7 separate regions of the Homo sapiens genome follow, and regions 2, 3, 4, 5, 6 and 7 are each linked to region 1. Evidence: promoter capture Hi-C in 16 types of primary human blood cells and fetal thymus (Javierre and others, 2016). All regions are on one chromosome and are shown on one strand. The core of a region is centred on a gene start or on the middle of the fragment in contact, and the rest is flanking DNA. Distances in the headings are between cores, read along the strand shown.

Evidence for each region. Contacts are between HindIII fragments. The CHiCAGO score rates a contact against its expected background, and 5 or more counts as called.
Region 2: a contact is called between a fragment that was not itself captured here and the fragment with the promoter of MRPS28 in region 1, in 1 of 17 cell types (neutrophils). The highest score is 6.7, in neutrophils.
Region 3: a fragment that was not itself captured here is called in contact with the fragment with the promoter of MRPS28 in region 1 in 2 of 17 cell types (naive CD8 T cells and erythroblasts); the score reaches 5.7 in naive CD8 T cells.
Region 4: the fragment with the promoter of PKIA here is called in contact with the fragment with the promoter of MRPS28 in region 1 in 5 of 17 cell types (fetal thymus, total CD4 T cells, total B cells and 2 more); the score reaches 8.8 in fetal thymus.
Region 5: the fragment with the promoter of ZC2HC1A here is called in contact with the fragment with the promoter of MRPS28 in region 1 in 2 of 17 cell types (monocytes and non-activated CD4 T cells); the score reaches 6.9 in monocytes.
Region 6: a contact is called between a fragment that was not itself captured here and the fragment with the promoter of MRPS28 in region 1, in 1 of 17 cell types (monocytes). The highest score is 5.4, in monocytes.
Region 7: a contact is called between the fragment with the promoter of FABP5 here and the fragment with the promoter of MRPS28 in region 1, in 2 of 17 cell types (activated CD4 T cells and naive CD8 T cells). The highest score is 7.5, in activated CD4 T cells.

What each region holds. Positions count from the first base shown.
Region 1 is chr8:80,027,826-80,032,241 of GRCh38, reverse strand. MRPS28 (mitochondrial ribosomal protein S28) reads left to right here and starts at 1,983. Exons shown (of 3, transcript NM_014018.3): 1 at 1,983-2,206. The coding sequence starts at 1,994. The region is part of intron 5 of TPD52-MRPS28 (TPD52-MRPS28 readthrough); the gene reads left to right. It also overlaps a transcript of TPD52 not described here. RefSeq lists an enhancer at 1,831-2,260. The HindIII fragment of the contact is 3,845 bases long and covers 980-4,416 here.
Region 2 is chr8:81,833,822-81,838,237 of GRCh38, reverse strand. All of the region lies in intron 2 of SNX16 (sorting nexin 16), which reads left to right. Among named protein-coding and RNA genes, the nearest start is that of SNX16, 6.2 kb to the left of the region's middle. RefSeq lists a silencer at 4,178-4,378. The HindIII fragment of the contact is 7,425 bases long and covers 1-4,416 here.
Region 3 is chr8:81,689,224-81,693,639 of GRCh38, reverse strand. It overlaps SLC10A5 (solute carrier family 10 member 5), which reads left to right. Exons shown (of 1, transcript NM_001010893.3): 1 at 1-9. Among named protein-coding and RNA genes, the nearest start is that of SLC10A5, 3.6 kb to the left of the region's middle. The HindIII fragment of the contact is 3,888 bases long and covers 483-4,370 here.
Region 4 is chr8:78,514,609-78,519,024 of GRCh38, reverse strand. PKIA (cAMP-dependent protein kinase inhibitor alpha) reads right to left here and starts at 2,685. Exons shown (of 4, transcript NM_006823.4): 1 at 2,557-2,685. All of the region lies in intron 2 of LOC105375911 (a long non-coding RNA gene), which reads left to right. RefSeq lists an enhancer at 2,011-2,120 and a silencer at 2,441-2,740. The HindIII fragment of the contact is 11,771 bases long and covers 1-3,108 here.
Region 5 is chr8:78,663,851-78,668,266 of GRCh38, reverse strand. It overlaps ZC2HC1A (zinc finger C2HC-type containing 1A), which reads right to left and starts at 2,178. Exons shown (of 9, transcript NM_016010.3): 1 at 2,103-2,178. The coding sequence starts at 2,118. It overlaps LOC105375911 (a long non-coding RNA gene), which reads left to right and starts at 2,288. Exons shown (of 4, transcript XR_007060972.1): 1 at 2,288-3,262. RefSeq lists enhancers at 2,025-2,074, 2,039-2,546, 2,547-3,055 and a silencer at 2,145-2,364. The HindIII fragment of the contact is 1,596 bases long and covers 1,168-2,763 here.
Region 6 is chr8:78,713,441-78,717,856 of GRCh38, reverse strand. ZC2HC1A (zinc finger C2HC-type containing 1A) reads right to left here. Exons shown (of 9, transcript NM_016010.3): 8 at 2,529-2,636; 9 at 1-529. The coding sequence ends at 364. It also overlaps a transcript of IL7 not described here. Among named protein-coding and RNA genes, the nearest start is that of ZC2HC1A, 50 kb to the right of the region's middle. The HindIII fragment of the contact is 1,858 bases long and covers 876-2,733 here.
Region 7 is chr8:81,278,676-81,283,091 of GRCh38, reverse strand. It overlaps FABP5 (fatty acid binding protein 5), which reads right to left and starts at 2,556. Exons shown (of 4, transcript NM_001444.3): 1 at 2,418-2,556. The coding sequence starts at 2,496. It overlaps LNMICC (lncRNA associated with lymph node metastasis in cervical cancer), which reads left to right and starts at 1,668. Exons shown (of 2, transcript NR_186603.1): 1 at 1,668-1,759; 2 at 2,716-4,416. RefSeq lists enhancers at 1,244-2,078, 2,079-2,913 and silencers at 2,508-2,797, 2,808-2,887. The HindIII fragment of the contact is 5,532 bases long and covers 1-4,416 here.

The DNA.
Region 1 (4,416 bases), core at 734-3,233:
TTCTGATCCTCTACCAAAGACAGAACTAAGGCCAAATTTGAAGTCATTTGATACAAACTTACTCATTTTTTTTTTTTTTTTTTTTTTTTGAGCTGGAGTCTCGCTCTGTCACCCAGGCTGGAGAACAGTGGTGTGATCTTGGCTCACTGCAACCTCCACCTCCTGGGTTCAAGTGATTCTCCTGCCTCAGCCTCCTGAGTGGATGGGATTACAGCCATGTGTCATCACGCCCAGCTAATTTTTGTATTTTTAGTAGAGACAGGGTTTCACCATGTTGGCCAGGCTGATCTCGAACTCCTGACTTCAGGTGATCTGCCCTCCTTGGCCTCCCAAAGTGCTGGGATTACAGGTGTGAGCCACCACGCCAGGGGTGTGTTTTTACGGATACTTGAGTTTTGCACTTTTCACCCATGCTGGAGTGAAGTGGCAGGAACATAGCTCACTGCAGCCTCAAACTCCTGGGCTCAAGTGATCCTCCTCCATCAGCCTCCCAAGTAGCCGGGACTACAGGCATGCACCACTGCCCCAGGCTGATTTTTCTATTTTTTGGTAGAGACTGGTTCTTGCTATGGCCCAAGCTGGTCTCGGACTCCTCATCTCAAGCAATCCTCCCTCCTCAACCTCACAAAGTGCTGGGATTACAAGTGTAAGCCACCCTGCCCAGTCAGACTGAGGGTTCTTGAAGACCACTGGCCATGCTCTTTACAATTTACCACACTTTCTCCTGAAAAAAAGTGGAAGTAGCACTATCCGTAGAAAATAATGTTCTAGGCAAGAGTCCATTAATAGTCTCGGGAGATAAACAGTTTTAACTGCCAAGAGGGAGAACTCACCTGGAGAATTTAATGAATTTGTAAGGACTACCATACAGTTAGCTAGTAATAATTTTATGTGATTCATACAATTGTGCACCATTCTGAGATCAGTGTACTTCGTGTTCTTAACACTATCTGTACCATTAGAGAGCATCAGAAAAGCTTAAAACCCATAGTCAAGGCATTCTTAAAATAGGGTCTGTGATCATAAAAATTCTTTCTCTCGAAGTACTTGCAAATGAACTGGAAAGGTGTGTGCCCCCAAAATAAAACTAACTGTGGATTAATATTAAACTGCTGGGTCAAAGATAGACGGACAACTAATTAATAAACACTTAAGAATGATGTTAGGCTGTTTTGAACAGGGTGGGTAAATTTTGGGAATTAACACTGCAGGAGAAAAGGGAAAGAAAATCCAGAGTGAGGGTGGGGGCCTACGGCGGTGCAATACTTAGGGACATTCCAAAACTTCTGAACTCCTAAGTTAGATAATAGGTATCTAGAGGTGTCAAAACATTTCAGAAAAACTATTTTTGTGGCGTGAGTGGACTGGCTGCAGAAGTGGCAAAGGACAAACTTGGATGCAGGGTTTGGCAAATGTTGGGTGAGCCCTAATCTGTGCCTGGTGCTAGGGACCCTACAGCAAAGTTCCTCTTTTCAAAGTTTAAAAAGTTGGGAGTAGACACTAAATATTATTAAATATTTAATATTAATATGTGGCATATTAGAAAGTGCTACATGGTACTAAGAAAAACAGGTGCCAGAGAGTCTGCATTTGGGCTTCCACTTCTAAATAGGGTAATCAAGGAGACCCTCATATTTGAGTGAAGACCCCAAACTCGAGTGCTGGCGGCCATGTAGGGGGGACGGCAGGGCGGGAGAACGAGCGTCGCGTTAGCAGAATTTACAGTACAATGGGGTCCAACGGATGCCCAGGAAGGCGAAATTCCTGCAAGTTAAACGCACTTCTAACGCAAAACTTAACCAGGCCCCTTTCCAACTATTTAGCCCACCAATTTTAGCTTAAGTCTCTTCTTCCCCACGCCACTCCCAGATGAAAGGAAGACACGCCTCGTTGGCCTCCAGAGCTCTGCGTCCGGGGGGCGGACCTCTCATAGCTCCGCCCCGTGACCCGCGCGCTTGCGGAGGGGAGGTCAAAGGTCAGAGGTAAAGAAGTCATGGCGGCGCTGTGTCGGACCCGTGCTGTGGCTGCCGAGAGCCATTTTCTGCGAGTGTTTCTCTTCTTCAGGCCCTTTCGGGGTGTAGGCACTGAGAGTGGATCCGAAAGTGGTAGTTCCAATGCCAAGGAGCCTAAGACGCGCGCAGGCGGTTTCGCGAGCGCGTTGGAGCGGCACTCGGAGCTTCTACAGAAGGTGGAGCCCCTACAGAAGGTGGAGCCCGGGCGGGTGAGAGGGAGTCGCGGGAATTACGCCAACGACGCGGTGGGCGGGGTCGGGAATAGGGGCGGAGCCTGGCTTAGGAAGGGGAGCTGAGGTCCGGGGCCCAGTTTTCCGGAGTTGCGGTGCGTTGTGGCTCAGCCCTCGGCCCCTAGAATCTGTGCTTGGTGTTTTTCTTCCTTTCGTTGTCCTTTTGTGTGGCATTTGCGTACTGGGCCGGGTCTGTCCACACTGCGCTTGTTTTCCTGGGATTGAATGCTGGTGGGAAGGTAACCAGCGGGGAGCGCTGCTGGGGAGGCGATCTAGGGCGATTCCTGGGACGCTAAGGAGAATGGGACTCACACGGAGAGGCAGGGCTCTGCTGGGTCTTGTTCTGAACAGTAGCTCTAGCATGGAGCTTGCTGTCTGGAGTAGAAGGCCCTTCATAAACATTTGTTAATTTAATGACTGGGTGATGAATCACTTTCTGAACTTGGGCAAGTGATTTAACTTGTCAGCGCTTCACCTCTCTTTTGTAAATGTCTTCTTTTTTTAAAAAGTAAAGTAAAATCTCCGTTTGTCTCAGCCAGTACTTTTGTAAAATACCATAAATTTATAGATAAATGAAATGGAAGAAATAAAATTACAAGCCTAAGTTTTTAATAATTAAACTCAGCAGACATGAAATTGAATTATATACAAATAAACTCTCAATTTCTGTATTTTTCTTCCTAGGGAGTAGTACCAAACAGTTCACAAGACTGGCAGTGTCCTGGGTTATAGGGTCATTTTAGTAGCAATTACTGATGTCAAAATTTTTCTGAAATCCAAGGACTAGAAGAAGCCTGGTATATTAGTTTATTATTTTCTGTTGTAACAAATTACTACAAATTTAGTGGCGTAAAACACAGGAAATGTGTTGTTGTTAGGGTTGTGAGAAGTCAGACGGGATCTCACTGGTCTAAAATCAAGGTGTTGGTGAAGTTGTGTTCTTTTCCGTAGCTTCTAGGAGAATCTCTTCCTGGCCTGTCTTTTCTGCCTCTGTTTTCTACTTTTTTGTTTTTTGGATTTTTTTGTTTGTTTTGTTGTTTTTTGAGACAGGGTCTCGCTCTGTCACCCACGCTGGAGTGTGGTGGCATGATCTCAGTTCACTGCTAAACCCCCTGGGCTCAAGTGATCCTCCTGCTTCATAGCTGGGACCGCAGGTGTGCACCACCACTCTGGGCTAATTGTTTTTTCTGTTTTTTTTTGTAGAGATGGGGTTTTGCCATGTTGCCCAGGCTGGTCTTGAACTCCTGGGTTCAAGTGATCCTCCTGCGTTGGCCTCCCAAAGTGCTGGGATTACAGATGACAGATGTGAGCCACCTGGCCTGGCTGACCCCGCCCGGCCCCGCCCCCCCCGCCCGTCTTCTGCTTTTGAGATCCCTGTGATTACATTGGCCTCCCTAGATAATCTATTTTAAGATCAGCTGATTAGCAATCTTAATTCCACCTGCAAAGTTAATTCTCCTTTGCCACGGAAGGTAACATATTCACAAATTCTAGAGATTAGGATGTGGATGTCTTTGTAGGGGGAGGGGGCATTATTCTTTCTACCATATATGGAGAAGTCATAAAATACTAGCAGAATAGCGATGATTGACCTGAAGCCACCTAAGGGATGGATTTTAGATCCATCCTTAAGGTAAGGCCATAAGAGTTAAGTGCAGTAAGGTTGGAAACATAGAGTTCAGTGCTCCCTTCCAAATATATGTATAGGAAAGGAGTTTTTCTATTTCTTACCTAATATTTCTCACTCACGCTTCGCTCCCATTCATACCACATTCTAAGCCCCTTCGGAAACCCCCCAAAATAATTCTCAATTGCTGAGTTAACTGTGGTAAGAGTGAAAATTGTAGCATCACATGTATAGTAAGTTAAGTGTTTGAAACTAAAAATGTACTGTTTATTTAATGAAGGAAACAACCAAGGTGTTTTAGAGTCCCCAGAATTCCCTTTCCTTTCCTTTTCTCTTTCCTTTCCTTTCCAAGGCAGTTCTAATTGGGCTGTTCAGTTTTTCCAGGAGGAGGCTGGGGTGTTTCCTGGCAGTCCCAGCACATCCGTTAGATTTTCTCAGTCCAGCTCAGGCTCAGCAGCATCTCTGCACCCTGCGTGGTTGTTCTCCGTCTAACACAGTTTAGAAAACATTATTCTACTAGATGATGGGTAAATGTGTTTGGTTGTGA
Region 2 (4,416 bases), core at 694-3,193, 1.8 Mb before region 1:
TTAAGTCATTTTTTTCTAGTAATGTTTTGTTGTTTTTGGTGCAGGGTTCTTACATCTGTTGGTTAGATTTATTTCAGGATATGGATGTTGTTTGATGTTCTTGTGAGAGACATCTATTTTTGTTTTCTATTTACTGCTATTTTATATAATTTGTCCTTTTATGTTTACATATCCAGCAACCTTGCTCAACTCTCTTATTAACTCAAAAGGTTTACTTTTTTGGTAAGACTTTGTTCTTTTAGTAAAGTTTAATGTTTACTTCAATGTTTCATGCTGTAAATTTATGACAGGATGGGAGGACCTCCAAGGAAAAATTGTTGAGATAATTTATGAAGAGGCAGTCTTTAAAATTATCATAAGACTGTGATATAGGAAATCTTCAGGGAACTCTGTCTCTCTCTCTCTTTTTAGAAAATTTTTAGAAAATATAAACTGATGGCCAATTTCCTGAATTAAGAAATAGGCATTTATTGAGTTGATACTATGGTCTGAATGTGCGTTCCTTCAAAATTCATATGTTGAAACCTAACCTTCAAGGTGATGGTATTAAGAGATGGAGCTTTTGGAAGCCAGTAGGTCATGGGAGCAGAGCCCCCATAAATAGGATTAGGACCCTTAAAAAGAGGCCCCAGAGAGCTTTTTGTCCTTTACACATCTGAGGACATAGCTATAAGGCACCATCTATAAACCAGAAAGTAGGCCCTCTCCAGATACCAAATCTGTTACTGTCTTGATCTTGGACTTCTCAGACTTTAGAACTTTGAGAAATAAATTTCTTTGTTTACAAGCTACCAAATTTATGGTATTTTGTTATAACAGACCTAACAGACTAAGACAGATGATATGTGTGAAGATGCAAGTATTTGGCCAAATACAAGGTGGTGTTATGTAAAGCATTTCAAGAGACTGGAGAGGAGGAAGTAAATGACAGATATGAAATTAGTCATATTCATTTATTTATTAACTCAACATTTTTTTAATTACCTATTATGCCTCAGGCACTGTTCTGGGTAATAGTGGTACAGCAATTTGAATGAAAGCATGATAAGTAAGTAAATAATAAGACGCCTGATATGTCACATGGTGATAAGCACTATAGAGAGAAATAAAACAGAGAAGGAAGACAGGGAGTTTCCCCAAATCTGGGGTTGGGATTTAAATAGCACTATCAGTCATGGCCTCACAAAAAGATGTTAGTGCTAACAGGGAATGAGCCATGAGAATGTGTTTTCAACACAGATGGGACAACTACAAAGATCCTTGTGGCTGACAGCAGAGTAAGCTGTGGGAGGTGTAGGGAATGAGATGACAGGCAGGGAAGTGTGGCACACAGATCACATAGGGAAGGAGGCACTGTGAAGACTTTGGATTTTACTCTGCATGAGATGAGAATCTTTTAAAAGGTTTTTAAAAGAAGAGTCATGTGATCTGACAATGTTTTAAAAAGTTCATTCTGGCTACTGAATTGAGACTGGTTTGGTCGAGATGGGGGACAGTCAAAGCAGGAAGCAGTTAGTAGGTTCTTTTAGTAATCCAAGGGAAACATGATGGTAGTGTGGACTGGGGTGGTGGAGGAAGTCCTGAGAAGTGATCAGGTTCTGGATTTGTTTTAAAAGTAGAACCGGCAATATTTCCTAATGATTTGGAAGTGGAGTGTGGGAGAAAGAGAGGTCAAAGGTGACTTCAAAAGTTTTGGCCTAAACAATGGGAAGATATGGCTGCCATTTAATTAAATGACAGGTTTTGAGGGATGATCAAAATTTGTTTTTAGACATGCTAGATTTGATATGTCTGTTCAACATTGAAATGGAGATGTTACATGTGTTAATGTGTACACATACATATGTAATGTGTGTGTATACATATAAGCTGAGTTTAAGGGAGAGGTATAAGCTGGAGATACAAACTTGAGAATCTTAGGTTTGTAAAATAATTTTTTCTAGATATATTCTTTTGAATTGCTCTCATAACTGAAAAAAGTATTAGGACTCACTCTTGATCTGATAATATATAAGGTGTCTAGTCTTTAAAAAGGTTGTTTAAAGACAAAAATTGACTAGGATGTGTAGTGAGTAGAATTGGGAAGGAAGCATGCTATGGACCTCTTTGATTGGTAATGTTTCATTTCTTGCTCACTGATATGGTTTGGCTGTGTCCCCACCTAAATCTCATTTAATTCCCATGTGTTGTGGGAGAGACCTGGTGGGAGGTAATTAGGAAGTATAGCTAACTTGCTTTTGATTTTACAAGCTGATAGGCAAAAGGGACTTGCCTTGTCTCAGATGAGGGACAAGGGGCAATCATTGGGGCAGGTCTTTCCCATACTGTTCTTGTGATAGTGAATAAGTCTCACAAGATCTGATGGTTTTAAAAGCGGGAGTCTCCCTGCACAAGCTGTCCTCTCTTGTCTGCCAGCATGTGAGACTTGCCTTTCACCTTCCATCATGATTGTGAGGCCTCCCAGCCATGTGGAACTGTAAGTCAAATAAACCTCTTTCTACAGTCCAGGCTGAGGTAGTCTTAGTTGGAGATGAGGAACTTGTTGGGAAATGGAGAAAAGGTAATTCTTGTTAGGTTTAGCAAAGAGATTGGCGGCATTTTGCCCCTGCCCTAGAGATTTCTGGAACTTTGAACTTGAGAGGGATGATTTAGGGTATCTGGCGGAAGAAATTTCTAAGCAGCAAAGCATTCAAGAGGTGACTTGGGTGCTACTAAAGGCATTCAGTTTTATAACGGAAGCACAGCATAAAAGTTTGGAAAATTTGCAGCCTGACAGTGCAATAGAAAGTAAAATCCCATTTTCTGAGGAGAAATTCAAGCTGGCTGTAGAAATTTGCATAAGTAATAAGGAACCCAATGTTAATCCCCAAGACAATGGGGAAGATGTCTCCAGGGCATATGAGAGGTCTTCATGGCAGCCCCTCCCATCACAAGCCCAAAGGCGTAGGAGGAAAACGTGGTTTTGTGGACTGGGCCCAGGGTCCCTGTGCTATGTGCAGCCTAGAGGCTTGGTGCCCTGCGTCCCAGCCGCTCCAGCCATGGCTGACAGGGGCCAACATAGAGCTCAGGCCGTGACTTCAGAGGGTGTAATCCCCAAGCCTTGGCAGCTGCCACATAGTGTTGAGCCTGTGAGTGCACAGAAGTCAAGAATTGAGGTTTGGGAACCTCTGCCTAGATTTCAGATGATGTATGGAAATGCCTGGATGCCCAGGCAGAAGTTTGCTGTAGGGGCAGGGCCCTCATGGAAAACTGCTGCTAGGGCTGTGTGGAAGGGAAATGTGGGGTCAGAGCCCCATACAGAGTCCCTACTGGGGCACTGTCTAGTGGAGCTGTGAGAGGAGGGCCATCATCCTCCAGGTCCTAGAAAGGTAGATCCACCAACAGCTTGCACCATGCACCTGGAAAAGCCACGGCTCATAAAAGCAGCCAGGAAGGAGGAGGGCTATATCCTGCAAAGCCCCAGGGGTGGAGCTGCCCAAGGCCATGGGAGCCCACCTCTTGCATGAGCAGGACCCAGACATGAACTAGACATGGAGTCAAAGGAAAGTATTTTGGAGCTTTAAGATTTGACTACCCTGCTGGATTTCAGACTTGCATTGGGCCTGTAGCCCCTTTGTTTTAGCCAATTTCTCCCATTTGGGATGCTTGTATTTACCCAATGCCTGTACCCTCATTGTATCTAGTAAGTAACTAGCTTGCTTTTGATTTTATAGGCTCATAGACGGAAGGGACTTCTTGTCTCGTATAAGAATTTGGACTGTGGACTTTTGAGTTAATGCTGAAATGAGTTAAGTCTTTGGGGGACTGTCTGGAAGGCACTATTAGTTTTGAAATGTGAGGACATGAGATTTGGGAGGGGCCAGGGGTGGAATGATATGGTTTGAATGTGTCCCCACCCAAATCTCATCTTGAATTCCCACATGTTGTGGGAGGGACCCAGTGGGAGGTAATTGAACAATGGGGGCAGGTCTTTCCCATGCTGTTCTTGTGATAGTGGGTAAGTCTCATGATATCTGATGGTTTTAAAAATGGGAATGTCCTTGCACAAGCTCTCTTCTTTTGTCTGCTGCCATGTGAGATGTGCCTTCACTTTCCACCATGATTATAAGGCCTCCCTAGCCACATGGAACTGTAAGTCCAGTAAACCTCTTTCTTTTGTAAATTGCCCAGTCTCAGGTATGTCTCTCAGCAGCATGAAATGGACTAATACACTCATAGTACTTTAGGTGTGTTCATTTTGTGAAATTTGTCAAGTTGTACGCTTATGAATTGCACACTTTTTGTATATATTTTATAATTCAAAAACAACTACATTAAAATAAAAACAGTACAAGGAAATACATATGAAACTTCAAATAAAGAGTAGAAACAACAACAGTTATTGGAATATAGAGAAGGGAATGATCAGTACTGTTC
Region 3 (4,416 bases), core at 1,177-3,676, 1.7 Mb before region 1:
GAATTCCTACTCTGGGTAGGGCACTGTGGGAGAGTAAAAGAATAACTATAATGATACCTGCTCTTAAGCCACTTATAATGTAATTAAAAATCTGACATTGGGGGGTAGAGAATACATATATATATATACACACACACACACACACACACACACACATTCGTATATGCTAAGTACTCAATGAGTGGTGGAGATGATAATACAGAAGTTCAGAGGAAGGAGACAACTTTGCAACTGTGTTGGTTTGAGAATGTTTTATAGGCTATGATGTCAATATGATACTTTCAGTGGTCTCCTAAATGAGACAGAGCAATAGAAAACTTATTTAGTGATTATGATATATCCTAAGTATTAAAAGAAGGAACACCCAGATAGCAGACATTTGACAAATTCTCACTCGGTGAATGAATTTGTAAATTTCATTAGCACATCAAAATAAGTATGTTTTAAAGTAAATGTGGCATCTCTGCCCTCAGAGCTAAGCTTTCTCCTGTCTTCCATGTTAACCCACCAAAGGCATTACTGTTTACCCCACAACACAGGGTCAGCTCTTCAACCTCATCTCTCTTCTGTCTTCTTTCTTTCTTTCTTTATAGTGAATGTATTTCCTACAGAAACAGCCTGTAATTCAATTGCCAGTGCTCTTCTCAATTCTCAGTGCTATCACTTTTTTCTGCACTATATTGCTTCTTCCCTAAACCTTTCTAAATTGGCTTCTGGCCTGTCTCTCCACCCTCTACTCACTGTCAGATTAATTTTCCTAAAATCTAACATTGACCATATAATTTCCCAGCAATGAAGACTTTTTGCTTTTTAAATGAATTTGTATTTCTTAATGAGGCATTTATTATACTCTACTGTCTGACCTTAACCTAGCTTCCCAGTTTTATTTATTATTATTATTTTTTTTTTTTTTTTGAGAAGGAGTCTCACTTTGTCACACAGTCTGGAGTGCAGTGGTGTGATCTCGGCTCACTGCAACCTCCGCCTCCCAGGTTCAAGTGATTCTCCTGCCTCAGCCTCACCAGTAGCTGGGATTACAGGCGCCTGCCACCACTCCCAGCTAATTTTTGTGTTTTTAGTAGAAACGGGGTTTCACCATCTTGGCCAGGTTGGTCTTGAACTCCTGACCTTGTGATTCATGTGCCTCAGCCTCCCAGAGTGCTAGGATTACAGGCTTGAGCCACCACGCCCAGCCAGTTTCCCAGTTTCATTATATCTCCTCTCTCACCTCGTTACACATAGTCTTTTACCCAAACAGAATGACTTAGTATGTTATGAGTATTGTTCATTCCAGCTAACCTGGCTTGTTTTATGACTATTTGTGTCCTGTTTTAATTTTCCTATTTTGCTCTAAGTCTTTGAGCATAATAACTATGTTTATTCATTTTGATATTCCCTATCACATCTAACACAGTATCTTCTGTGTGCTTATTCAAATAATGTGTTGAAGCACAGACTAGTGTCCAAATAAATAGTGTGCTTTTCAAAAACCTCCTTTTAATCTTCAGTGAAAATTTTTATTATCTAGGGCAAGTCTACGATCTTGTGCAAGAAAGTGTGGGATCGAGAATAGGAAATATCACTCTAAATAATCCTGCTTTCCCTATTTCCTAGCCTTATGGCAAATTCTTTGATCTTCTTATAGTCCAGTTTTCTCATTTAACAAATGAAGCTAATGGTGTCAACTCCATAGATTGTCCTAGGAATTAAGTGAGAGTATACATGTAATGTGCTTGGAAGAGTGCCTGGGACATAGTAAGTGCTATTGTTTTATCAGTTTTAACTTTCAACCCTGGTAGATCTGCTGCTAGTTTGAAATAGCAATCGTATAACTATGTATGGAGCCTAAAACTTTCAACATTTTCTATCAGTACTATTCACCATCTTGATCATAGAATTAGAGAATTTTTGTTTACTTTGCCAGTTGATAAGATAACCAAGGTTCTTTTTTCTTTAAATGCCACCAAATCCAGTATATGACTACCAAAATTTGTATAAAATCTGATATAAACCAAATAGACATGATAGATGTTTATTTGGTTTATAAAGTGATAATTGTGTATGTAGAATATTTTACTCCTTTAAACTGAAATATCCACTATAGGTTTAAAATAGAATTACATTTGTACAAATTTAACTTACATAATGTTTTGGGTTTTTTGTTTGTTTGTTTGTTTTGTTTTGTTTTTCTGAGACAGAGTTTTGCTCTTGTTGCCCAGGCTGGAGTGCAATGGTGCGATCTTGGCTCACCACAACCTCCACCTCCCAGGTTCAAGCGATTCCTGCCTCAGTCTCCTGAGTAGCTGGGACAACAGGCATGCGCCACCATACCCGGCTAATTTTGTATTTTTAGTAGAGATGGGGTTTCTCCATGTTGGTCAGGCTGGTCTCAAACGCCCAACCTCAGGTGATCCGCCCACCTCGGCCTCCCAAAGTGCTGGGATTACAGGCCTGAGCCACCGTGCCTGGCTGACTTGTTTTTTTTTTTTTTCTTTTTTTTTTTTGGGCGGGGGGACGGAGGCTCACTCTGTTACCCAGGCTGGAGTACAGTGGCATGATCTCCACTCACTGCAACTTCTGCCTTCCAGGTTCAAGCAATTCTCCTGCCTCAGCCTCCTGAGTAGCTGGGATTACAGGTGACTGCCACAATGCCCAGCTAATTTTTGTATTTTGGGTAGAGATTTTTGTATTTTTGTATCTGGTTTCGCCATGTTGGCCAGGCTGGTCTTGAACTCCTGACCTCTTGGGCTGCACTTCTAGCTCCATCATCTTACCAGCTGGGGAACATTTTGGTCAAGTTACTTGATTTCTCTATGCCCAAATTCATGCTGAAAATGGCGATAATGGTAGTACCTACCTCGTGGTATTATTGTGAGGATTAAGTGAATTAATATGAGCAAGGTCCTCATAAGAATGCCTGACACATGGTAAGCCCTATTATTATTTTTGTTACATTATGCATATTTAAATGATCTTATAAAGCAGTTGCAAGGGCATGGATGGAATTTGGAGTATATTTTATTTCTTTAATAGATGTATCAAGGAGGACAGATTTTACATAGTAAAACTTGTCCAAAAATATGGATAGGGATGGGGTGACCCAAGTTATTCCTTTTTAAAAAAATAAGAATGAGAGGCATAAAGCAGACTGACTAATCAGTTGAGTTCATACCAACTATTTTCCACAGCCACGATTCTATAAGATAGAATAACGATCCAGAGATAGAATGGTTATGCCAATTTTTAAAAAAGTTTCTTTCCAGCTCTTAAGAGATGATTCTATGATACACTCTTCCAAGAATAACAATTTTATGATATATATTTTTATATCTTGGAAAGCTGTTGGCCTTATAAGGGTATGTCAAAGTCTTAACCAATATATGCAACTCCAATCTGTTATATCAAACATGAGATCTTATTAGATATCCTTGGACACTCCACCCCTGAACAGCTGCCATGGTGTATTTATATTTGATCATTTAAATCAAAGTCCACTTAAATAATTATTATAACCAAGAACGTCTTCGCATGTGGAACCTGAATTATTTTTTAGTGAAGAGAGTGGTTATTTAAAAAGAAGTCATCTCCAAAGACTAAGTGTAGTTGGCAAGATGCCCACAATTTCTGGGGAAGGAATTCCTATGGCCCCTCTTTATTGTACAAATACAGAACAAGGAAGCACCTATTGCCCACTGGGAAGGATGACCAGACCACTTTGTGGCTTCACAGGGCCACCCTTCCCTAGAACTCTCTTGTGTACACTCAGCTGTCTGGGGAGGTGTCAGGGGCATTGGATCTCACCTCTCTTTCATTCTGAGGTTCAGCGTAATTACAACCTCTCTCATAGATGGGAGTCAGCTGACAGGAAAGGATACCAAAGGCCTCCAAGAGGGAACTCCCCTTAGGGAAGGTTGGAAGAGTGAGGAGCTGGACATCATGCCAGGAAGCAGAGTTTGTGCTGCTGTCCCCTGCCCCCGACAACCACCTGGGCACAGCAGATATTCTTAGGTTTGGGAACAATGGCTGCAGATGGGACTGTAGTTTTAAAAAATGCCCCTTTGGGAACTCAAGGGCCATGCATCCTGTACTGAGGTCTCTGCAGCCATGTGAACTACCTTCACAGCATCAGAGAAAAGATCCTTTGGATTTGTGAGACCAGTTTCCAGCCCCACTATAATCGAGCCTGAACACTAAGACTTCCCTGTGCACCGGCAGATTTTCACTTCACTTTCGGTAAGGCATTTGGAAGCAGAACGGCCTCTTTGGACTGAAAAATACTGAGTGAGTTACCTGAGAACCAATGTGAAGTAGCTGTTGAGGTGAGGCCTCTTGGAAAAACTGGACTTCCTGCTCACCTGACATAGGAAGCTTGTAAGGTTTTCATTTGAAGGGATATTTGATATTTAGTTTATTTTA
Region 4 (4,416 bases), core at 1,436-3,935, 1.5 Mb after region 1:
TCCTCTCCCTAGGAAACATTTTAAGGAAAGGATATAAAGTCATAAATCAGTTTCAGACATAAAATCATACATATATTTCTGCTTAGCCTTCTAAATTTAGAAACTTTCCTCAAACTTGTTTAAACACAACAAAGTCCAAATTCAGGAATCCCTTCAGTTTGATTATCTTCCTCAGTTGTACTAAAATGAAAATTAAATTTTCTAACTTGTTTTCTTTCTTCTCAACAAGATTTCTCCAACTCCAGTCCATAACTTAGTGGGTTCAACTCACCTGCAAAATCACTAGCAAGTATTATTCCACCTTAGGCAGCACCAGTCTCCTAATCCTGAACCTATTTCTTGCCAAAGAGTTTAGTTTCTTCAGAAACTAAATGATAGACACTTCGAATTTCTAACCATCATTAGGATATTCTCACGCACTTGCTCTTCAACAGAAAGGTGACTGTCAACATTACAGAAACTGCATTGTATTTCTAAGATCAATTGTACTAATCTGTATTTCATATACCTTAGGTTATTTAGAATAACTATATTAAAATTCATTATTATTCTATATTAGTATTATTCAGAATAATGATGTATATGGTTAAGTATTTTAATAGTAGAAAAAAGGTGGTAGAATACAGGGTTTGTTGTTGATCTTGTTCTTTGTTACCTCATAGTTAATGTGACTGAGTAAAAATTCTAGAATCTCAAGAAGTTAATATTTCAAACCAAAACCCTGTTTAACACATAATAACAACAACAAAAAAGGAACATAAGGTTATTAAGACCCCAAGGGGCAGTTCCTGGAGTGGATCACTCAGTAGTGGGCTTTGCCCACCCCCTACACCCTCACCCTATGCCTCATATACTGAAGATGGAGACAAAGAAACAAATTCAAATCTTTCTAAAGTGCATTTTGTAAAAACGAAATTTGTAATAGAAAGGCAATAATGATATATAATATGATTAACACGATTTTCCATACTAGTGTCTTTGCTTAAAAATAATATTTGAAGAGGAAAGAAAGAGGTAAAATTTTAAGCTACCAACTCTGCCCCTCTTTTTCATTGATCTTCTAATTTAATTTACTAAAATAAAATTGCATGGCTGTTGAGTCAGACAGTCTCTGTAATTTTAAGTTTAAAGATAACAGATCTTCCTTTAAATAGAACATTGGCACACAGATACCCCACAATCTGGCTTATTGCAACTGTTCTCTGTTGGTGAAGTGGCACGTTTGCAATCCCCATAACAGCCATCTTAACCATTTCACAGCATATTATTCAAATGTACATCTCTAGGTGGCAACAAGGATAGGCACTTGGGCTCAGTAGCAAGGGGTCTGTGGGGAAAATCCTAGGACGAGGGATAGGAACCTGCAAATGGCAAGACAAACTAGAGGATACTCAACCAGAGGCTTAGATTGGGCAGCTCCATTGGCTTTCTGACTGCCTACGAGGAAAACCTCACTGGAAACTCTTTTGAGGTTCTTGAGGAATCCTAGAGGCAAACGGACTCCTCTGCCTTTTGGAAAGGATTTGTCCCAAATCTTAACAGCTAGCTGTCTCAAAATCCAACTGGACTAAAATTGCTTCAAGAAAAACTGGATGGACTGGCATTCACATTTTTACTTCTACCTATGCCTATGCATAGGGAACATCCCTCACACTCCAGTAGATTCTATCTGTCCTCTCTAGCTTTCAAGTAGCCACAGTGACTACAGCGAAGGGAGTTAATGGGATAACATGTTGGTACAGGGCCACAAGCAGGATATTTCATTCCATGCATTTGGGGGAAGGACACAGGTAACAGTATACAGGGAGAATACCGAATAAGAAATCTGTGTGAGGCAATGCCCTTTTTGGGACCTTGACAAAATCAGTCATGGAACCCAGGTGGTGGATAAGAGCTGACGAGAGTTGGTCTGTGAATGGGCACAGCATCTCCGAAAAAGATCAATGAAATGATTGACAGAGAAAATGGCAATTGAAGGAAGAAGCGATGTCAAGTGCTGCTCAACCCAAGCTGAACTCCAGGAGATAAGAGAAGTTTCCCCTCCAGATAGAGGCTCTTTCTAAAGGTTCAGTCTTGAAGCAGGTGTTTTGCCATTGAGAGGGGCACAGACCCATTCTGATAACTGGAAAGGGAGAGGACCAAGGACTACAGGAAGAGGGACGATTTCTGATTACCTCAGGCTGCTGCCAGGGACCTACTGCTCCAAATCCTCAAAATACTCAAGCGAAGGTAAAAGGCACAGAAAGCAAAAGAGTAACTCAAATTATTTTAAATTTTGAGTCCTCTTCACTGTCTACGCGAATCTGGCACTGAAATGGTAGATCACGTTCAAAAGAGTATAGAGGCAAGAACGCCTTCTTTGTTTGCCCAGTAACACTGCTCCTCCAACCTCTGCACTTGGCCGCCCAACATTTCCATCCTAGTTGTTGCTCCTTTTCTCATTGCAGAATGCAGCGGGGTTCTCCCCTTCTTCCCTCCGTGCTGCAAACCCCATTATTAACCAAGCGGAAAGCTCCACGCAGTGCGGCCAGGGCGCACCGGTGCCGGGCTGCTTACCTTCCCCGGACCTAGTCAGCGCAGGTCCCCGCGCACGCCGCCACGGGCCGCAGTCCCGCCGCGCCCGCCGAGTGCTCGGTCAGCTCGCGCCGGCCCGCGCCCCACCTGCCAGCAGCAGCCTCCGCTCCCGCCGCGGAGCTCCGGCTGCATGAAGTCATCCCCGCCCCGGGACGGATCACCACATTCCGCGCCAGCCACGGGGGGAGCGGGGCCGCTCCCGACCCCAGGGAAGGCAGCCTGGAAACGGCGCTCGACGATCGCTGCCCCGCGAGGTTGTGGATTGATTTTCTATTAATGCTTTTACAGCTGCAGCATCGCTGGATTATGGATTGAGAGAGAAGAGCCAGGGGGGCTTTCTCTGCATAGCGTCCTTCCTCCGAGCGCTCCCCCGTCACCCCGGCTGCATGGACTGTTCCATTTGCCCCTGTGGGTTTCCCACCCTCTTCATCTTCCTTATCAGCATTGTTCATTTGGCTGAATTTGAGAGCAGGAATTGTCTTTTAAGATAAACATTCAAGCACTACAAAAACATTTTAAATTGGTAATGAAGCTTTCTAAGCCCTTCATAGCTCTCTCCATCACCCCCGCCCCCGCCAACAGACACACACGCAAACACACACACACACGCACACACGCGCGCACACACACGTATGCACACAGCCAAACCACTCACAATTTTGAAAGCTAGAACCTTTCGCCCTCTCACCTACGTAATAGAACGGGAATCTCCTAAAAGACTGGAGAAGTGGGGCCAACCAGAGAAAGCGCTCAAAGAAACAGTGGGGTGGCCCCATGATTTTGTTGTGTTTATGGTGCACTTGTGCACAGATGTTCCCTCTAACATCTCTTCCTCCTACTTCCTTTGCTCTGGACCCCCTCCCCTCCCTGCCACATAATTGGGCAAACTGTTGTGGTGACAGCTGTAACATTTGGGAATCAAAAAGCAGAGTCTACATTAGCAAATGACTATCTCTCTTTCCCTAAGGATTTATGAAAATTTGCTTTGGGAATGAAATAAGCATGTATTCATATAAGCCCTTTCCTTCTCTTTTTAAATTAACACTAGCTGTTAACAAGACTGTTCTCTCTCCCCCACCCTCCCGTTTTGCTTCTTTCCCAAATCTCTTCAGGTTTGAGGGTTGAATGTTTAAGGAAAAATGGGACTAAATTTGCTCTCTTTGTAGCTGAGCCAGGGTTTCCGCCTAGCTGTTGAGTCATTTTCCAGTCGGGAGGTTCCTTGACACTAGGGTTCTGTGGAATGGAGTTCCCTCTTTTAACTTGCCTTGCTGTTTGAATTGACCGTCACTTGATACAGGCCAGCTTTACACTATGGATTTGTCCAGCAACCTAAACAGTGCAATTGCACAAGGCCAGGGAAGCACCTTTGCTAAATGAGATGTTTCCATCCATCTATCAGTCCCAAAGTTAGGTGATAATGTAGCCAACAGCTTTCCAACAAAACTTAGTTAGAATTCTTGGTCATAGAATATATGCTCTTTGAAAGCTAGAACAGCTTAATTCATCGCTCTGAGACTCACTTTCATAACATTAGCCCGTTAATATTACCATAGAGCAGGAGATTCTTAATCTGTATAAATGGAATTCTATTCATATACTCCTTTTATACAGATTAAGTATAATGGGAAAAATCTCATTTTTAGTTTCACTAACTTCTAACTGAAATTTAGCATTTAGCATGTCCTTTAAACATAATGTAGGCAACAAACCACAAGAATGTTAGGAGTACCTGGGACTTTGTTTCCAATAGAAACAACAGCTAATTCCTTATTGCTGTTTTTATAGATATCTCTATCACTACACTGATGTTATAATCAAATCATCACTACTTTTTTTATTTAA
Region 5 (4,416 bases), core at 929-3,428, 1.4 Mb after region 1:
TCAATGTTTCTAGAATGAAAGAATGGATGAATTAATGAACGGTAACCTTAAGACTCAGAGTTTGATATTTGCAAGGTGTGATCTCTTAGGGGAGGGAGAGGGGAGAAGGAGGAAGGAGAGAAAGGCACCATCCTAACTTCAACAGAAAATTCTCAAGAGCTTTTATTAGATTGAACTGCTTGAAATTACCAGAATTCAACTGTTTTGCCCTACATAATTTAGGGCAACTTCACATATTTCAACTCAGTTTATCACAATTAAACACATTATAGTTAATGATAGCATCTTATTTTGTAAAAAAAAAAAATCTAAAAGTAAAGGGCAAGCACTATTAACATCATAAGCTGGGCCCTATAACATCATAAGCTGGACCCATAAAATATGCCTATAAATACAGAATCCTACCTTTGTCCACCTATGCAACTGAGTGTCATAATAGGTTTCCATTATATTTTAAAAACATTCGTAGTAAGGTTTCAATAGTAATATCTTAGCACTGTTAAAATGTAAGGTCCACTAAAATGTAGGTTCGATGAGAGTAAAGCTTTATCATTTTTATTCTTTGCTGCAACCTAGAACCTAAAAAGATGCCCATAATAGACATTTATTTAACAACAAATATTTATTGAGTACCTACTTTGTGTCAGACATTGTTTTAGGTGCCTAGGATACATAAGTGAAAAATCAGATGATGATCTTTGTCTTAATAACAAATGTTGAATAAAATAATAAAAATCTGCAAACTGTTCAAAACACTTTATAGATAATATGTAATAAAACCTTATCATATTATATATGATAATCTCATGAGAATTCCATAACCCATGCTTTAATCCCACCAAGATACAAAAGTATCTTGAAAGTAAAATATACTGTACTATCATTACAATTCCTTATTTCATGGAAACTTGAATTATCTTCCAAAAACACATAAGCAAAAAACAAGACCTTCATTAGGCCATAGCATACTGCAGCTGTCCACAAACGGAAAATTATCAGAATCATTTATCAGAGCAAAAGCACGAAATAAACTTCTACTCATGTTATTACATCTGCTTTTTGGTGAATAGGTGACTGAAAAAGTTACCGGCTACCACTTTGCACTTCATCACACAATGTAGAATATTTTACTCCCTGGCATGCAACAATACACAAGACTCAAAAGCTTCTGCTCATTCTTAATTCCAACTGAATCCGTGTAAACTAGGAGACGGGGGAAAGGAGCTAAATCAAGACAATAGGATCTTTCAATTCTGAAGGTTTGTTCTTCATCATAACAAATTAAAAAATCTTGAAACTGTTGTTGCCAATGCTAGTTATTGTGGTTTTTGTCCTTCCTTTGTTTTTAGGTGAATGCTTTCATTACACAGGATAAAATGGGTAAACAGAATAGAGAAAAAGTGAAAGAACTGGGAACAAAGCAAAATCTGGAGTCATGGTTACAGTACAAAGATAAACCCAAAGATAAGGAACCAATACAGGCTCTTCCTCACACAGCGGCCGTGAATAAGTCATCAAATCCTCCGGGTAATCTATTGTACCGGCTCTAAAGCTGGCCAGTGACACTTCCTTAGGAGATGCTCTGACATCCCTCCGACAGAAGATGCTGTCGAAATGTAAAAAGCCGGTTACCTAGGGAAATCGGCCAAGGAATGTCAGGAGCTCGAGGCTGGAGACACACCCCGGGGCTGCAGCACAAAGTGGCCTGTTGGTGTTAAGGCCGTGGACAATAATGGAGAGAGTCCAGTACAAGGAAAACAAAATCTGGCCAGAGACTGGGATCACTAAAAGGGCACTCAGGAGTCAAGCAAGATCAGAAAATGGTAGGAAGAGACGTGCAGGCGTCTTGCCAGGGGCAGGATCTGGCTCCGGGCGGGAAAGCCCAGTTGAAGACCGTCTGAGGCGGGGCAGCCTGGTAGCGTTAGCTCCACCGCATCGGGGACTGTCCGGTTCCCTTCGGCCCCAGCCTCCGGAGGCGCGGCGGGACGCGGCGAGGTCCGCCGCACCGAACCAGCCCTCGCCTTCCTGCTACTGGTGTCCAGGGTCCCCAGCTGTTTCGGGCCCGCTCTAGCCGTCCTGCCCTCATCCCTTCATCGCCTCACCTTCCAGTCCCTCCATCGCGCCACCTCCTCGAGCTCAGCGAGACTCCTTCAGCAGCGCCCGCCACCGCCCAGCTCTGGCTGTAGCAACCCAGCCGCACCTCCCACCCGCTAACATTCCGAGCTCCCATTGGTTCCGCAACTGCGGGGGCGGGGATCCGTGGGGGCGGGGCCGCGGCGGAGGCGAGGTTCCTGCGGTCTCCTCCTGGCTGCCACCCCTGTCCGTCTCTCCGGGTTACTCTCCAGGGAGCCGGGAGCCGCTTCAGGTTGCAATCTGCGATGCAACGGCGCCTTTGTTTGACTCCAGCCTTGTTTTGCCTCATACCTTATCCTCCTATTTAGAGTACCTCAGCACCTCATGGGCTCCGCTTCACCAGTTCCTCAATCAGTCAATGCCTCTGACTTCTAGCCGCCATCCCTCCCAGTGGATACTTTAAGCAGGCAAGCAAACCAAACAAACGCCCAGCACGCTTGCATGCAGCAATCTCCGTTTTCCGGTCTTTGGTCGCATGACTTGACCTCAGCGTATCCCCTACACTTGATCTTCACACACAGCTTCATAGGTTAAGACACTTTTTTTCCAGAGAAATCATACTTTCTATCTGCGATTGTGGAACTGCGATTGCTCTAAGCCCTTGAAAACAGTTTCCTCACCATGAAAGCTTGGGCCAAAAATTAGAAGTGAAACCCAGCCCTCCCTCTGTCTTCTACTCTTGGCCTACCTTGGCCCTATACTTTATCATCCATAAACCAAAACAGTCGCCTGGCCTGACAATGTTTGATCGGGGAAGTTTGAGTTGGGGAATTAACCTACAACCTGACAGAATGAGGCCCGCCCGTCTCTAACAGAGTTCAAAACCTCCTGAAGATGAAAGTAACTTCAAAACTAACTCAGACCATTTTAACGGTTTTGCTTACAATTACCAGAACTACATTTCTTTGAAAATTTGATTTAGCAATCGTAAACAAGCTGTACTGTTTGCTGACTATAGCGTATCTACTGGCAAGTTACCAGTATTAATGTGTTGTCCATAACAAACCTCGGATTAATGTTATTGTTAATCTGTTTAATTGAAGAGTTTAACTTCATATCTAACTTCATCTACTATGAAATCAGTTACCTTCAGGAAGCAGGATTCCTCCTACTCTCCACTCACATGAAGGTATGTTTAAACAAGCAAACACTTGAGGGGGCATCATCTCTTACTGAGAAGGTGCTCCAAGTGCATTTGAATGTGGTAGAGTCCATCTGTTGTGTGGAGCCATGTAAAGACCACTTCAACCATGCCTCAATGACTCCCTCCGCCCTTCCCTGGTTCCCCTGGCTCTTCTGCTTCTCTGAGATCCTGGGCCTCCTTGGCCAACCCATAGCCTTGCAGGCAATAAGCTACTCTAGACTGGGTGCTGCGGAAAGGTCCTTTTTCTTCCTTAGTGCTACTAAGGCAAAGGTAGAATTTTTGGTTGGGAGGGAAGGCCTTTTAAAAGAGCATTAAGGAGAAAAAAAAGCACACAGAAGAAAATACAAAAATAAGGAAGCCATTATTTTACAAATTACAAGTTCTTTCACTGAAGGCAAGACGAATATTGAGTTGGCTGATACCTTATTCGACATAAAATCTACAGTAACATTAAAAATAATAAAAATAGCATTAAAGAATAAATCATGTGAGGCATGTTTTAGGCCATTTTCATATATTCACAAATCTTCAAAAGAAATCTACAAAGTAGATACTACAATCTTCATTTATCAGAATTAAAATGTTCATTTTCTAGATGTCTCAGAGCAATTAATATTTTGTCAATATTTGTATTATTAGTGGATGGTAGAGCTTGGCTACACTCTTGTCTGTTAAATTCTAAAGCCTATGGTGATTTGATTGGGCTCCTCACTCCCTTTCCTTGCCTTGCCTTTTATTATAGCTGCCTCAAGTGTAAACCCAAGCGTTCAGACATGTTGTTTAACATATATTTGAGTAGGCATTTCTATTGTGAATCTTAATTCTCTAAAACATGATTGCTAGTCTTCCCTACAGGTATCTTCATAACTTTTATGCTTTTGGTCTCTTCATAACTTTTACGCTACAGCTACCCTGGCTCCTGCAGCTTTTCCCTGATTCTGACCCCTGAGTAAAGAGGACTTCTTCCTATCTGCCTTCAATAAGTTCTTTCCTCTGCCGCCTACATACCTAGCCTGAGAGTCTTGTCTTGGCACTGTATCATGACATTACTTCCTCTCCAGTCTAATCCATTTTTCGGCATGCATTCATTCAACAAATGTTTGTTGAGTACCTTCTATGCTTCAAGTCCATTTTATCAC
Region 6 (4,416 bases), core at 555-3,054, 1.3 Mb after region 1:
TCCTAAAGCTTGAAGGGCTAAGCACTAGAGTATGAGAGTTTGTGGAAATGTACTTAACGTGCTTTAACAACAACAGAAAAGTAACACCTAAATTAATTGTTCCATTTGAAATTATTTTCTGACAGATAAGTGAATATTTCCTTGAATGACACAGTCTGGGGTATCAGATATTTATTATATACAGTATATGTACACATATAAACATACACACATTATATAGCCAAAAGATTACACTTCAAAATTAACTGGAAATGGTATTTCGAGTATTTTTAGCACAAACTAACTAGAGGATGTGCTCTAGCTGTCCAAGCAGCAATAATCATAAACTCTGAACTTGGCTTTTTTTTTTTTTTGAGATTCTATTCATAGAATCATTCTTCGAATGCCACATTCACAGCAAAATTTGGCCCATTCTACAGGGTATTTAGTCCCACACTCATGGCAGAATTTTGGTAAGTTTCCAGGTGAATGTCCTTCAATGCCTTTAATATTTCCACCATTAAGGGAAGATGCACAGTCCCCATCTGGCCTAAAAAAGTAAAGAAACAATGAAAAGATAAAGTTTGTATCAGTAGTTTTCAACCCATAACCCTGGAGAAACAGGACATAAATATAACAATTAGCCTGCTTAATCTCGTTTTTAATATTCCTCTAGTTCAAATTTTAAAAAATCCTTGTTAGTAAATACTAAAATTCTAACATTTTTTTTTAACATTATATTTATCTGTGTTACGAGAATTTACCATGACCAAATGCAGCCATGCTTTCTGTGTTAGTCTGTTCTCACATTGCTATAAAGAACTACCTGAGACTGGGTAATTTATAAAGAAAAGAGGTTTAACTGACTCACAGTTCTGCAGGCTGTACAGAAAGCTTGGTTGGGGAGGCCTCAGGAAACTTATTCATAGCAGAAGGCAAAGGGGAAGCAAGCATGTCTTACATGGTGGGAGCAGGAGGAAAAAAGAGAAGGGGCAGGTACTATACAGTTTTAAACAATCAGATACATTGAGAACTCACTATCACAAGAACAGCAATGGGGAAGTCCACCCCCATGATCCAATCGCCTATCACCAGGCCCCTCCTCTAACGTTGAGGGTTACAATTTGACATGAGATTTGGGCAGGACACAAATCCAAACCACATCGCTTTCCATCTGTTCTTTGTGCTAGGAATTTACTACACTGGGAGCAGAATGAACATTTATGATGTCCTTTCTGCAAACCCATCTCTAAAGAGAACCCAACCATGAGGAAAGATAGAGATCCTTAGGTTTCAAGTCTCTCTCCTTGGTCACAAGGATTGTGAGGTGATGCTTCTAGTATTTATTTTAGTTTTATTATTTAATGATATTAAATTATTGTGATGCAATAAATAACAAACTCTTATGCATGCACTCACAGGGAGGTCTCTATTATCTATTAACAAAACATACTAGGCCGGGTGCGGTGGCTCACACCTGTAATCCCAGCACTTTGGGAGGCCAAGGTGGGTGGATCATGAGGTCAGGAGATCAAGACCATCGTGGCTAACATGGTGAAACCCCGTCTCTAATAAAAATACAAAAAAATTAGCCAGGCGTGGTGGCGGGCGCCTGTAGTCCCAGCTACTCGGGAGGCTGAGGCAGGAGAATGGCGTGAACCTGGGAGGCACAGCTTGCAGTGAGCCGAGATTGCGCCACTGCACTCCAGCCTGAGCGACAGAGCGAGACTCCGTCTTAAAAAACAAACCAAAAAAACAAAAACAAAAAAAAACAGTAATAAAGGTAAAATAGATGCTAGATGAACTATACACTATAACAGCCTTTTTTTTTTTTTTTTGAGATGGAGTCTCGCTCTGTCACTGAGGCTGGAGTGCAGTGGCCCCATCTCAGCTCACTCCAACCTCTGCCTCCCAGGTTCAAGCAATTCTCCTGCCTCGGCCTCCTGAGTAGCTGGGATTACAGGTGTGCAACACCACAACCGGCTAATTTTTCTACTTTTAGTAGAGACAGGGTTTCACCATGTTGGCCAGGCTAGTCTCAAACTCCTGACCTCAGGTGATCCACCTGCCTCAGCCTCTCAAAGTGCTGGGATTACAGGCGTGAGCCACCACAACTCCTCATCCATTCCAGTTTTATCGTGAGACTGCAGCAGTTCAATGACATCTGCAGGCTTCCCTTCTGATTCTAGTTCTTTTGCTATTTTGCTAGTACATCTGCAGTTACCTCCTCCACTGAAGTCTTAAGTCCCTCAAAGTCATCCATGAAGTTTGGAACAACTTCTTCCAAACTCTTATTAATGTGGATATTTTGACCTCCTCCCATAAATCACATACGTTCTTAGTGGCATGTAGAAGGGTTAATCCTTTACAGAAGGTTTTCAGTTTACTTTGCCCAAATCCATTAGAGGTGTACAACTTAAAAGCCAGATTAAAAGAAAAAAATCAGGTTTTCTATAAATAGCTTGTTACTTACTTTTGTGTATGGTCCTTGGAAAACTATCATATACTCAATTTTATTTTAGTTATTGGGAGAGCAGAGCTAAACATACCTGGCTATGTAGCTCTCAGTATATGTTTTTCTTTTGTTTGTAAGCACACCTGGGGCAGGATTTCTTGCCAAACTAGGTGGTGTGGAATTTCGGGGTTTGACATTAGCTCTATAAAAAAGAGGAAAAATAATGGAAAAGTATTGAACAGTGAGCATGTATTTCTCAAATTACCTATTCACATGACTAGAAAGAATACTTAGAAGCTTCAGAGAAGTTCAAAAGATTAAAGTCCCAATAATTATTTTAAATCTGAAAGCAAATAGTAGTTAATATTAAAGATAAACCAAATAATTTTGCATTTACTAATACTATTCTGATAGTAAATAAAATCAACTAAAATATGTATATATGCTTTACATGAAATTTATAAGGTAATCATTCTGAAAGATACATTTTTAAAAACAGTTTAAATTTATATTTCCCTCAAAACATATATTCTGATAAATGCTTACGGATAATGGTTAAATAAACAAACAAGTTTCATTATTCTAGGCATATACGATGTAGTTAAAAAAAGAATTTTTTTGCTAGTCACATTAAAGAATAATATTCAACTTATGAAAGTTCTAAAAAGCAGCAACTAAAATAAATGAGTTAATATAATATTCCCTTTAAAGATTTAATTTTACCAACTGCACAGCCTGGGCTATCCGAAATCAGAGGGACTTCTGGTTGGATCATCCATGAGTCTCCATTTTGAAACTTTAAGAATCAAAGAAGGGTTAGAAAACTAAATGATGATGATATAACACTAAAAGCAGAGGCTTGGGAATTCAAATGAATTTAGATTCAAATGCTAATGCTACTGACAGCTTTGTGACAGCAAGTCTGAGTCTCATCATTTATAAAATGATCACTTATAGAAAGGTTATGAGAAAAAAAGTACAATTCATATAAACATTTAGATAGCTGATGCTAATACTATTACTACTGTTGTTGCCACTATAAGTTAACATTTATATAATAGTGCTTACTCCATGTCAAGTACAATTCTAATTATTTTGCCCATAGAAATTTATTTATCCTAATAATCCTATGAAATAGGTAGCGTTCATAACTCCATTTACAGATAAGACAAATGAGGTAAAGAGCCCCTAAGTAACTTACCCAAGGTGACCCTGCTAGTGTGTTCCAAAGCTAGGATTTAGATGTTCATTGAAGCATAGTTCCCTCCCTCTCTATAGAGCTTTAATCAAATCTTTAAATTTCACAGGTGAACAGTGTTATATGAACAGCAGAATACTTTAAAAAATACCTCCAGATTAGAGGTTCTTAAACTTTAGTTGAAATTTTTCTTACTCTACTTATATGGCAAAGTAGGAGAGAGTACCCTAAAATTGTAAATAGCTGCTTCCAAAGTACATGCAGGTAATAACAACATCCACTATTTTTCAAACAGCCACTACATGACAATTATGAAGCCAGATACTACACATGCCTTATTTAATGTCCCCCAAATCTCAGAAGATATTATTCCCATTTTAAAGTGGAAGCATGTTCAAAGAGATTATATAAATTGTGAGGCTACTACGTGGCCAGAGTAGTACTTGAACTTAAGTGGGCTGTATTACAGAACTCATATTCAATACACAATGCTGTCATTCAAAGTGGTTGCTTTGCATAGTTACTTCTTTAAATTACTTCTAAACTTCAACAAGCAAAGAATCACTTTGGTGCATGAATGGAATGCCCTGCACCTCTTCAAATGCTCACTCCAAGTCCATTCATGAGGTTTACTCTACTCTTGTGTATAGCCTCTTTGGGGATGTTGTAGAACTACTAGAGTCTTTTTCTAGAAATTCAATCTTTAGGAAATCATTGTCAAAGAATGGACTTTAAATAGGAAGAACACTTTTTTTTTTTTTGGCTATAGAATCGTCTTAAGTGC
Region 7 (4,416 bases), core at 1,307-3,806, 1.3 Mb before region 1:
CAACTAGAAAGTGATGGAGCTGGGAACCAAGAGCACTGGCACCCTGGCTCCAAATCTGAGCTCTGGCCACCATGCTATGCTGGCTTTCAGAAAGTTAGGGAAGAAATGTGGACTTCCAAATTTTATTTACTCAAAGCAGTTGATAGAAGGTGGAGATAAAGCATTCAAAATTGCAAATTCAGGAGTTTGCTCAATCTTTTTCTTTTTACTAGATTCTGCCAACCATTACATTCTATGACTCCAGCACAGTCTGGCATATAAATGTTCTCGATAAATATTTGATTAATAGACTACACAAAATAGAAATTGATCCTGAGATATTCAAATAGCACAATCTTTTAAAACTCAGCAGCACAATCATGATGCTAACAAATGGGAAAAAAAATCCTACCTTTCAATATAAAAACTATTTCATAGGTATATAAATCAATAGAAATATATAACATATTAAATTATATTTTAATTTATGATCTATCAATTTCCCCTCAACGTTAACATGTAATTTATGATCTATCTCTTTCCCCTTAGAGTTAGTTAACATGTATAAGGAATCTTAGATCCAGGCCAAATCACTGTTTCATAAATGAGGAGACTACAACCTACGCAGCATGATTGTCTTGATGAAGAACACCCAGCCAGGCTTTAAAGTTCCCCTTGGAGCCTTCTCTTTTGCCAGCTCAGGGCTGGTGCCTTATGCTGTTAATTGAGTCATTATGTACTCTCACTTTGGACAAATAAATGGGCTCTGCTCTTTTCACATTGTGACTGCTCCCTAATGAACTGAGTCTTGACAACCTTCAAGACTCCAGAATCCTGGAAACAAGCCCTCCAAACCTACACACAATTTGCTTTCTACAGGCAGAGAAAAGTGTTCTTTGGGCCTTAAACTTGTACACACACACACACACACACACACACACACACTGTTATTTATTGGACAGGTGCAGTAAATCGCTTTTTCCAGAGTCATCTTGATGTAGGTTTACAAGGAAAAAGAAAAATACTGCCTTCTTTACTGATAGTATCAAAAATACACTCATGATTCACCATAAACCAGCCTTAACACCACATGGTCTTGGATAAAGGGTACTGAAGGAGTGATTCCGAAGTGCCACGGCGACCAGGTATCAATAGAGGGTCACGGTAGTTATTTCACCAGCGAGCAACCGGGTTAACATTTGTGGATACCGGCTTCTGAAGCACCCTCATAAATCCCAGCCATCCCTTAGGGCTGGAAGCTCCCTTCCAGAGAGGATCCATGCTATGCTAACTCCATCTCACTTCCTAGTGGCCTGTGACAAAGGTCCATTTTTGTTTGCAATTTATCCAGTGTCTCAATCAGCATGCAATCTGTCACTGGCATAGAAAAGGACAGTAATTTATAATGAAGCACTGTTTTGAGTGAGAAATGAATCTTACTACTGAGATTCATTCTCCCTCGGAACGCTTCAAGAAGTCATCTGCCTTCTGCAGGGCCACACCCATCTTGCATGCAGTTAGCCGCAGGAGGGCCAGGCAGTTTCTGTTACGGTTTTCCAGCAAAGCCCACTGCCTCCTTCCTCCTCACCCTCAAGTGGCAGAGGCCAGGATGGCAACACACGGCCACCCCCAGGCCTCATTGCGCTCCTCCCACAGGCCACCCGCCCACTGCGGCGCCCCGGCCCGGCAGTGCCAGCAGCAGGTCGGCACCGCCAGCGCCACGCTTCTCGGGGGCCCTGGTGTTCCATGGGGTACCAATCCAAAGGGTTCGGCTCAACTGGTAAGGGCGAGCAGAGGACCTGGGGGAGACGGGGCTGACAGAGGAATGCAAGCTGAAGCTGTAGCGCCACTCAGACCCCTCCACAGGATTTCTGCGGGAAACTGCGCGCCAGCACCGCGTCCCCATGAAGAAAACGGAGGGTGACCTGCGCGCCACAGGGAACAAAAGATGCGACAGGGAGGGAAAGGGGAGTGGGTGCTGCCACGATGGGGTAAATGGGAGAGACAGAATGGTGGCAGGAAGGGGAAGGATGAGTAAAGGGGGAAAAAAGGGAAATACAGGGTCGCCTGGAGGGGGTCGAAAGAAGTGCAGCGTGAGGTGACGGGTGCGCGCGCTAAAGGACAGGAAGCAATGCGGAAGGGCTGCCGTTTGGGCGAAGGGAAAGAAGCAGAGGTAGGTGGACCACGGGGTGGACCACCTCCGGAATCTTGCGGCCCGCGGGCGGGCAAGAGGCGCGCACGCTCCCTGCTCCTCGCCGCCTGCCCGCGTGGTGCTGCGCGCGCTGCACCCAACGGCCGCGTGGTGGGGAAGATGGGAGGGGATGGGGGTAGGCCGCCGAGCATCTCCTGCCCCAGAATCTGGCACGCTGACGGGGACCTAGGGACAGACGACCGCACAACACGCCACGTTGCAGGCGCTGCCAGGCCGGGTGCCTCACCTAGCTCCTTCATGTATTCATCAAAGCCTTTGCTGTCCACCAGGCGCCATCTTCCTTCCAGCTGCTGAACTGTGGCCATGGTGGGTGCGGGCGGGCTGGCGTGCAGAGAGGGGTCTGCGTCGGCGTGGCAGCGTGCTGTGAGGCACCCGGCGCCGGCGGCTGCTTTATAACGGCGGCCCGCGCTGGGCGGCGCTATGCGGCCAATGGGAGGCGGGCCTCGCCCGGTCCCCGCCCCGCCCGCCGGGCGCCCCCTGGGCCTTCTCGGGGTCGGGAGGTGCTAACCAGCTCCTCTTGCCAGGGTACGCGACGGCCTCTCGGGCGCCTCCTGCAAGCAGGGACTCGCCCGGCGCGCCCCACGCCTCATGGACGCCGGCGCCTGCACGTTTCGGCGCCTCTGCAGGCCCAGGAAGCCAGAGGGGTCACCTGGAGGCCTGGCCCCGCCTCTCCTGCACCCCTCCGTTTGACAACATATCCACCGCCGTTTTTCCTTTCAAAATACCCGGACCAATCGATTAGCCCTCGCCGGACTCGGACTGCAGGAAGTGATTGATCGGCTGTTTGGTTTATTGATTCATTAACTACGGTGCCTCCCTGACCTTCTGCTCCTCGCCAGCGCACAAGCTCACAATCCACACCCTCCTAAGAGAACCTGCTCTCGCCATCCGCAGGTCTCCCTGGCCCAATAGTGGGGATATACCTGAGTTGAGCTAGAGGATTTTATCCCTGTTGGGATGGGGGACGTCTCGGGAAGTGTGGTTTCTAAACTAAAAGACTGCAGGAAGTGTCAACTTTAGTGACTGTCATTGCCATTCAAGAATGTTTGATTAGTTTATATTCCCTTCGTAGTGCACCCTTCACCGTTTCTTCTCAGACACCAGCGGGTTTCTTCTCAGACACCAGCGGGTTCCCTCTTTCTCTTGAACTATAATAATACCCTACACATGTGCGTAGAACATGATACGTTTCAAAGTGTACTCTTCACAATTTATTACTTGGTGCTCCCGGGTGCCTGTTGGAAGTCAGATGGACTGAGGTGAGGAAGTTGCCACACAGGCTGGCCGTTTCGATAGCGGTAATGTGCATTTATTGAGTAGCTACTAAGTGCTAGATGTGCTTCCTGGGCACTTTATAGACATTGGTCTCCACTATATTTTTGCTAGGGGTGTTATCCCAATTTTTCAAAAGAGAAAATAGGGCAAAGATAGTTCTCACAGTGGTAGAACCAGAATCCCCATCCAGGTCCGTCTCACTGAAGACCTTATGAAATCAGACCACACCTGACTGCCTTGGGCTCAGGGTAGCTGTGATGGAGCTCTGAGTAGACCACAGTCACCGAGACACTACTAGTTCTTGTATCATCCTTGACAAAATTGAAATCTGAGGTTGGTTTGCTATCTCCCAACATGCTGCAGGACATGTACTCCCCTGAACTGCATCCCTTTCATTTCAAGTCCCTGCCCTCAGTTTAGGGTCACACCAGTCTTCCTTGTGGTACCATTTAACACTCAATTGTTTTCCCAATAAGGGTCTGCATGTCCCACACCCGAGGCCCTACTGCTCAGAAAATATTCGTGTTCTGAGGGAAGCTGAGTGCATCATTTACTCAGTGATGAGAAGCCCTGGCTACCAGGCACTTCAGGCAGCTCCTTAGGGCTGCCTGTGTGTTTGAACTTGAGCTCTTCATGTGCTATTTCAACATGTCTTATCCATTTCTGTATAGACTATATGTAGTAATAATAGGACGCAGCACTCTGATACTAATTTTTAAATGATCATAATCTAACATGTTACAGAAATATCAAAAAGATAATGGCACTGGAGTACTAGATACTTAGGTACTTAAGAAATAGCCTTTAATCCCAAGGCCTTACTTAAAACTTAAGTTTAAACACAATCTCTGATGTGATGAGTGGAAATAATTCTTTTGTGTTAAAACATACAGACAAAACAAAGCTATATGGCCAGAATAATAACCGTTATTGTATCTTGTGGAACAAAA